2 separate regions of the Homo sapiens genome follow, and region 1 is linked to region 2. The links are contacts of gene promoters, found by promoter capture Hi-C in human tissues and cell types (Jung and others, 2019). All regions are on one chromosome and are shown on one strand. Each heading gives the region's core, a stretch centred on a gene start or on the middle of the fragment in contact. The rest is flanking DNA. Distances are from core to core; before and after follow the strand shown.

What was found. The method cuts DNA at HindIII sites, captures the fragments that hold promoters and counts their contacts. A contact is called where the count stands out against the background at its distance.
Region 1: a fragment that was not itself captured here is called in contact with the fragment with the promoter of HNRNPU in region 2 in 1 of the 25 tissues and cell types used here (heart left ventricle).

Annotation. Positions count from the first base shown.
Region 1 is chr1:245,042,753-245,047,065 of GRCh38, forward strand. All of the region lies in intron 3 of DRC8 (dynein regulatory complex subunit 8), which reads left to right. It also overlaps the pseudogene RNU6-999P. Among named protein-coding and RNA genes, the nearest start is that of EFCAB2-AS1, 74 kb to the left of the region's middle. RefSeq lists enhancers at 3,778-4,278, 4,279-4,313. The HindIII fragment of the contact is 6,532 bases long and covers 1-4,313 here.
Region 2 is chr1:244,863,293-244,867,684 of GRCh38, forward strand. HNRNPU (heterogeneous nuclear ribonucleoprotein U) reads right to left here and starts at 1,251. Exons shown (of 14, transcript NM_031844.3): 1 at 325-1,251. The coding sequence starts at 1,015. It overlaps LOC124904588 (UPF0764 protein C16orf89-like), which reads right to left. Exons shown (of 4, transcript XM_047439568.1): 3 at 1,371-1,439; 4 at 1,190-1,294. The coding sequence ends at 1,190. RefSeq lists silencers at 1-320, 1,301-1,400 and enhancers at 625-1,456, 1,457-2,287, 1,621-1,680. The HindIII fragment of the contact is 13,439 bases long and covers 1-4,392 here.

The DNA of each region.
Region 1 (4,313 bases), core at 1,483-3,982, 180 kb after region 2:
GTGTGAAATATTCTGAATCTGGTCTTCACTTTGGTGTTTTTGACCTTAGGCTGCCCTTAAACTGAAGTCACAGCCTAGCTCAATGGCACTGGCTCCCCCTTGTGTCAGGAACTTGATACTACACCCACTAAATGCCAGCCTGCCAAGAACCAAGCTTCCCCGGGTCAAACATTTTAAGTGGTCCAAATGCTATACATAATTAAATGATGACACCACGATTGGGCCACCTTATTGGGGCTCATTTGCTCCAAATAGTCTTACTCCTATGCCCACTACTATATATATAGCACAGGTACAGAAAAACATTTTTAATACTTGTAACCATAAAGGCTTTTGGAGTTAGTTTGTACTTCTTATCAATATAAGACATCTACGTTGACAAAAGAAATCGAATGTTGACTGAGTGCGGTGGCTCACGCCTGCAATACCAGCACTTTGGGAGACCTAGGCGGGCGGATCACTTGAAGTCAGGAGTTTGAGATCAGCCTGGCCAGCATGGTGAAACTCTGTCTCTACTAAAAACACAAAAAATTAGCTGGGCATGGTGGTGGGCACCTGTAATCCCAGCTACTTGGGAGGCTGAGGCAGGAGAATTGCTTGAACCTGGGAAGCGGAGGTTGCAGTGAGCCGAGATTATGCCACTGCACTCCAGCCTGGGCGACAGAGCGAGACTCTGTCTCAAAGGAAAAAAAAAAAGAAAGAAAGAAAAAGAAATCAAATGTCTCAGCATATTTTAAATACTTTATATGGAACAGTTGATTTTCACTTTCTTTCAAAAGCCTACCAAAATTGAGGAGTTAGCGTTTTTTTAATCCCATGAAATCGATTTAAAAGGAAGAAAATTATTTTTCAAAGGGACAACATTTTATTTTCAAGAGTAGTATTTGATTTCTGTTTTGTGTACATGGTAGAATACTGAGTGAGTTGCTCCTGGCCACTCTCGCTGTTGAGGAGATGAACCCGTGCAGGGACGGCCCCAGGAAGGCCTCTTTAGCTGTCTGAATGAAGTGATTTTGACTCTCAGCGTCAGTGGTGTGCTGGAGCCAGACCGTGCCGACTTATCCCAGCTCACAAGAGCTAATGGCTAAATTTCAGGAGTTCTGCAAACTATTGTTAAAGCTAGTTTATATTAGAAATAAATTATATAGACAATTCAGTTATATTAAAAAACAAGGGTGCTTTCTTCAGCAGCACTTATCTAAGATCAGAACAACATCGAGAAGATGAGCGTGGCACCTACACAGGCTGGCACACACATTTGTGAAGCGTTCCATATTTTTTCAGGTTATTCTGTATTAAATGCAAAATAAATGCTTTTATTAACAATGACAAAAAGAAAGGTAATTGTAATAAATACAATTTACCACTTCGTAATTACTTTATTATATTTTACTCATACTTTGAGGTTATTTGTGTCTAGTGTATGTGTGGTGGATGTACCATATAATGGTATGCTATTGTCATTTCTTCCAGACTCCACCTTTAGTGATTTCATGTTTGTAATTGGCAGCTTGAAATCGATCTTGGAACAATGGAAATAAAACCACAATGGAAATAAAAAAGGATCCAAATCAGGACTTTTTGCCTATGAGGAGCCAGTGATAACCAGCCCATTACTATATGCAAAACGAGTTTATATGTTTTTTCTCTACTCCAAAAACTTAACAAAAGAAGGAATTATTAAACTTTAAAAAACGATTTTAATTTTATTTTACTACATTGGTTTCAGTTTTTTATTTTATTTTATCATTTATTTATTTATTTTTGAGACGGAGTCTCACTCTGTCGCCCAGGCTGGATTTATTTATTTATTTATTTATTTATTTATTTATTTACTTTTTTTGAGACGGAGTCTCGTTCTGTTGCCCAGGCTGGAGTGCAGTGGCACCATCTCGGCTCTACCTCCCGGGTTCAAGGGATTCTCCTGCCTCAGCCTCCTTAGTAGGTGGGATTACAGGCGCCTGCCACCACGCCTGGCTATTTGTGTGTGTGTGTTTGTGTATTTTTAGTAGAGATGGCATTTCACCATGTTGGTCAGGCTGGTCTTGAACTCCTGACCTCAAGTGATCCACCTACCTCGGTACCCCCTCCCCCGACCCAGCCCCAACAAAGTGCTGGGATTACAGGTGTGAGCCACCATGGCTGGCTTGGTTTCAGTTTTTTAAATAGTTTTTTGAAAAGATAACTTCAATAATTTAAATTCTTTAATAATTTTAATAATGTTAAAAATGGTTTTAAAAGGTTGCTTTAATTTAATTGAATTTATTTATGTTGAGACAGAGTCTTGTTCTGTCACCCAGGCTGCCGTGTGATGGCAGCATCACAGAGCTCACTGCAGCTTCAACCTCACCTGCTCAAGTCATCCTCCCATCTCAGCCTCCAGGGTAGCTGGAACTACAGCCACACACCACCATGCCTGGCTAATTTTACATTTTTTTGTAGAAACAGGTTCTTACTGTATTGCTCAGGGTGGTCTTGAACTCCTGGACACAGGTGGTCCTCCCGCCTCAGCCTTCCACAGTGCTGGGATCACAGGTGTGAGCCACCTTGCCTTGTCACTGGTCGAGGGTTGTGACTGCAAGTTGTCCAGGTTCTTGGCATTTTGAACAAAGAATTGGACAAAATGCCCAGCAAAGCAAAGCAAAGTATGAAGCAACAAAAGAACAAAAGCAGGGATTCATTGAAAATGAAAGTACACTCCACAGTGTGGGAGTGGGCCAGAGCAGCAGCTCCAGGGTCCAGATGCAGAATCTTCTTGGGTCCAAATACCCGCTAGCAGTTTTCCATTGGCCACTTCACGTCCATCTCATGTAAATGAAGTGCTAGCCCACAGTCAGTCTGAATGGTTGCAGAAAGCAGCCAACCAGAGGCTGAAGTGAAGTTACAAAGGTCACACCCCTGTGCAAACAGGAGTTGGTTTTCGCAGCCAATCAGAGGCTAGGGTGAAGTTACAAAGTTATACCTCTGTGCAAACAGACTTGGCAGGCCATTAGTCTGACTGGTTGTGGACAGCAGCCATCGGTCTGACTGGTTGTGGACAGCAACCATTCAGAGGCCGGAGTGAACAAAGATGCAAACGAAGACTCAACCCGCAGTCAGTCTGGTTTGTTGCAGACAGCCAATTTCCCATCTGCCTACCAGAAAAGGTAGTGAGTTTGCAAAGGGAGTAGCCTCTGGTCCTTTTGTTACTTAGGCTGGAAAGTTAGGGTTTTCCTTTCAATTTAGTTCTAGGAAGTCAGTGTGAAATAGCCTTAGGATCCCTGCCTCCAGACCCTATTGCCCTGCCTCAGCCTGGCCTAAAAGCTTTACTTGAATCTTCAATCAATTCACTTAATTCAAAGTTTCATTTAGTAGAAATAGGTTAACCAACCTTAATATTATATATGATTTTATCAATTATGTTATATTTTTGTTTCATTTTCTAGTTCCTGTCTAATGTCTTGTTTTCTTATTTCTAAACTTCTTTCTTTTATTTTCATCATTAAGCTATGAATTTTTTTCCTATCTCCTGTAACTTTCTTTTCACTTATTTCAGTGTTTTTACATTTTTCTCTTCAGCTGTCTCCCTTTGCAGACAGACCTCGATCTCTTTCTCAGAATTAATGGCCTCATATTTTCCTGACCTGTGCTCCTTCTCGCTGTCTCTTTTATTCTTAGCTCACCTTTAGGATCCTCACTACTCCTGAGGCTGAACTGTTAGCAATACGGTTTCCTCCACTGTGGCCAGGATCCCAGCTCCATCCGGATACCATCTGGACATGTGCAGGGCTCACCTGGCCCCTTCTGCTGTTTTCCCATGTCTTTGGCACCAGAAATACGATGCGAGGATAGTGCATAGGATCATTCGGTCATTTTTGCCTCTAGCCCCGTATTTCAGAACATGGGAGGACAAGAGAAGCTCTGAGTCGTTTTTGCTTCTGCTGTAATTTGTTTTTATTCTCATCTCAAGGAATTTGGAAGTCCTTTTGAAATAAATGCATCTCATTTCATTATCATTTGAGGAAAGAGACATTTGAGAGGAAAGGGCGATTAATATTTAAACACCACCTCCCTTCCCCTACCTCATTTGCCCTTGTATTTTTTTCTTCTCACTCGCTCTCTTATATTGCCTTTACTGGGCAACTATGTCAACAAATTGCCACTGAAAGGCACCTGACTGGTGAGCTGCCTTGAGCTGAGGTCAGTGTGATCCTTCAGCTGGGAGCCGCTGCTCCGTTTTAGAGGGCGAGCCATTGCTACCGCTGATGAGCTGAGCCTGGGGCTCAACGAGTCCATCTGAAAAGCCATCTCTCTTCCAGCAGCAGGGAGCCACT
Region 2 (4,392 bases), core at 1-2,500:
ACCGGGCTCCCTCCCGCCGCCCGCCCGCGGCTCCTCCCCCTACAGCGGCAGCTGCAGCTCCCCCCGGCTCTCGAGCCACATAATGGAGGCGCTGCCACCGCCGACACACACACACACACACACACACACGCGCGCGCGCACACACACGCCCCGAGCCCGAGGCCTCTCGGCTAATCTGGGATTCCCCGCGCCCCCTCCCCCACCCTCACCGCGGCGCCCTCCCGCCCGGGGCTCCCTCCCCCTGCGGGGCTCCGGCAGGCCTGGGGCACGGTCCCCACCCCGCGCGGGCCTCCCGCCGCGCGCAACGTACAACGCAGCACTCACCCGCCGCCGGAGCCCCGGGGCGACCGCCGCCTCCGCCGCCTTCCGCCTTCTTCTTACCTCCCGCCTGCTGCTGGCCCTGCCTCGCCCCGGGCGGCGCCACCGTCACCGCGAACAGCGAGGTGGGGCCGCTGCTCTTCCCCGCGGCCTCCTTGGCGGCCCCGCGCTGCTGTTGGGGCTGTTGCTGCTGCGTCGCCGGCGGTTGAGGCTGCTGCTCCCCGTGCCCGTTCTCGTCGCCCGCGCCTTCCTCTTCGTCCCCGAGCTCATCTTCCCCTTCCTGGAAACCCTGATCGTCGCCGTTCTCGTCTTCCGAGGCGGCCTCCTCCTCCTCCATCGGGCCCGAGTCGGCCGCCCCCGCGGCCCCGTTCTCCTCTCCTAGCTCCATCTGGTCGCCGTCCAGAGCGGAGATTCCTTCCTCCTCCTCTTCCTCTTCCTCCTCCTCTTCATCGCCGCCGGCCGCGGCCTCCTGCTCGAGGCCTGCTCCCGAGCGCCCAGCGGAATCCCCGCCCAGGTCTAGGCTGCCGTTCCCGGGCTCCATGGCGGGGCGGCCCCCGGCCTCCTCGTCGTCCAGCGCAGCCTGGAGTCGCTCCATGAGCTCGGCCTTGAGACCCTTGTCAGAAAGGCGTCGCTTCTTGAGCTCCTCTTTCAGCTCCGACACCTTCAGCTTTTTTACATTAACAGGCGAGGAACTCATGGTGAGGGCCCCGATTCACCGCTAGGCGCTGCCTCAAACTCGGCTCCGCTCACTCGGCCACTGGTGGCGGCTGCTGCGGCTGCTCCTCGGCCCGGGCGGCGGCTGCGGCTGCGGCTGGAGATGGGTTCGTGCTGCAGAGCGGATCCGCCTGGTGTCGAACGGCGCCAATTCCTTTCACCGAGTTCGCGAGGGAGACGCGGAGACTCGCCTGGCGCGAGCGAGCACGCAACGTCCTCTCGCAGGAGCGGCGCCGCGCACGTAATATAGGCGCCCCGCCCCCTGCGCTGACGGGAGCACTGCGCAGGAGGAAAGCCGGAGCGCGCCCGCGCTCGGCCCCGCCCATTACCGTACTTACCTCCCCGCCCCCACGCCGAACCCGGGCCGAGAGCGCGGTGGAGGCCGCGCAGTGCGCTTCCAATTGGGACTGAGCAAATGGAGGAAAAGGAAACCGCCTTTCAGTTCAACCGACTCACTGCATGATATATTGGCCTTTCTGGGTCTTTGGTGGCTATACTCGTTTGGCTTTTCTCCTTCCCAGCTTGGAGGCTGCTTTATCCAAATGCTTTCTTCAGTCCTCAACTTGGCGTTTCAACCCGAATCCGCCTTTTCTTCCATCTTAGATCTGCCTTCTTATGTGTTTCTCCAGCTCTTCGTTTAAAACTCCTTCAAATCGTATTTCAGTTTTGACTGGTATAGCATACATTGGCAACTGTTACACGCAGCGGCTCTTTTCCTCATAATACCGTATTTGGTTTAATTTGTGTAAGTCCTGCCTTGCGAATTGGATTTTAAGTTCGAGAAGGGCAAGGGCAGAACCGTTCTTTTGTCTGTTCCACACCCCGGGTGCGGGGCCTGGGAAGTAGAGGCTTTGCTTACTACTCCATACTGCAAACCTTAGTGTACCTGCCTTTGCAGGGCAGCTATTCTCATGCTCTTAATAACCCTGAATAAACCTCAGAATTGCATTTCCAAGTTTTCTGTAGCTACCACAAAGACGGACCTCCAGTAACACTTGTTCTGTCCACTTTAGGACCTGGTCATCAGCTACGAAGTCCCAGTAGCTAACCGTGAGGGTGAGACCCAACTAGGTCTTTGATTATAGGCCCACTTGATTCTCTTCCTATTCCTGTAGAAATACTCTTGACCAAATTATTCTGAAACTTAAAGTTTACGAAAAATCAAGGGCTGTGATTTTGTAAAAAGAAAAATGGACTATCGCTCTTGAAATCCGTTATTTTATATGTTAGAAGTTTACTTTTTCTCTTTAAAGAAAAGATGTGATGTCTCGAAGTTTTAGATAGGGAAGTCAGAATTTAGATTCGTGATAGAAGTTAACATTTTAAACCCTAGATAATCTGCAGTGTCCAGCCAGTGTTCCATCTGACTAAGGAGATGGTTTATACCCACTGTTTGGTGCTCTAGGTGGCACAATAATATTGCCCCATTATTAATTTGAAATTTGGAAGTAAACACATTGAAATTTCTCCCATAGGCTAATATGATTTAACTAATTGATACATTTTATTTTTGAAGTTTATTTTCGGTAGCTTTTATGAAGCATTCTACCATACCTTGCAGTCATGTATACGTGAAATATTAACACTTGTGAAATGATTTGACTTGAAATTAATGGACTATGTACAGTACTACTGATAATCCCCAGTTCAAGTTAAGTGGTGAGGATAGCCCCCAAAATAGAAACTTCCAAACAGTGCCAGAAACTCATTTTAGCCTTTGGTTATAATTTTGAAGGTTATGAATAAGCCACAAACTGGAATTTGAAATTTTGTCTTCGTTCAGAAATGGGAAGAGAGCTACAGGGGGTTTACATGTTCACAAACTAGATAACTAATCCCTTAATGAATCAGAGTTAAATACAATTATGATGGTTCCTTAAATTTATGTGTCCTAGATATTATTTACACCTTTAAATATTAGTTATATGAAAACAAATTTCATTTACTGGAAAACACTAAACTATGAAAACAAAGATTGTATATCTACATATAGTAGATCTGTAACAGTCACTCTTGGAACATTAAGTCAGTTGCAAAAATAAACATGAAATACAACTTTTGATGCTCACAAGAAAGTTCTATGGCTTTATCTCCAAAAGTTTTGGAGAACTTTAGAGCTGGATGGGGCCTGGAGATCGATCTGCAGTCCTGTTCATTTTACTGCCCAGGAAGCTGGGACCCTCACCCCCCACACCAATGGGCTTTCTATTACATTGTGCTGTCTTAGACAACATTTGAAAGAAAAACAATTTCTGCTCAAAGAACCATCATCATACTATCCTTTTCACAAACAGAGGAAATATGCCATTCCATAGTCTTATGTTACCACTTCAAAGTACAAATGGTGACATCTTATTGATCATTTTTGCTTCTTATATTTTTAATGCTATCATGATAGTCCTGCTCTACAGAGACCTGTTAAAGTGCAGGTCACTTCCTGTAAATCTCTGAAGGACCTCTAAGACAATTTAAATTCCCCCTGTGTCAAATCCTAGAGGCTACCAAGAATACCGCGTGCCGGAGGAGACAAGTTAATTCTCAATAACAAAAAATGATTCAAGAATGACCTATGAATAATTGATCTGTGAGAGGTAACTACAAAGTTTTGGTGCTCTGCATGTCTAGCTTACATTTTTGAGGTTTAAGCAAAGGAAATGCTATACTTTGTCACACAATTTATTCAGCAAATATTTTTTCAATACTTTCTCAAAAACATTTTATAGTCATAACGATGAGGCAGTTCCAGAGATCTACAGTTAACAAAGTATCCTGCACTTAAAAATTTGCTGGCCAGGCCCAGCGGCTCATGTCTGTAATCCCAGCACTTCGAGAGGCCGAGATGGGAAGATGGCTTGAGGCCAGGAGTTCGAAACCAGCCTGAGGAACACAGTGAGACTCCATCTCCACAAAAAATTAAAATTAGGTGGCTGTGGTGGTACGCCTGTAGTCCGAGCTACTCAAGGGGCTGAGGTAGCAGGATCACTTGACCCCCGGCAGTCAAGGCTGCAGTGAGCCGTGATTGTACCACTGCACTCTAACCTGGACCACAGAGGGAGACCCTGTCTCAAAAAAAAAAAAAAAGAAAAAAGAAAGAAAAAGAAAAAAACCCGTTAAGATCTTACGTTAAATATTCTCATTCCCCCCCGCCCCCCAAAAAAAACAAAACAAAACAAAAAACAAGATCGGGAGTGGTGGCTCACACCTGTAATCCCAGCACTTTGGGAGGCTGAGGTGGGCAGATCACCTGAGGTCAGGAGTTCGAGACCAGCCTGGCCAACATGTTGAAACCCCATCTCTACTAAAAACACAAAAAATAGCCAGGCGTGGTGGTGGCCGCCTGTAATCCCAGCTACTCAGGAG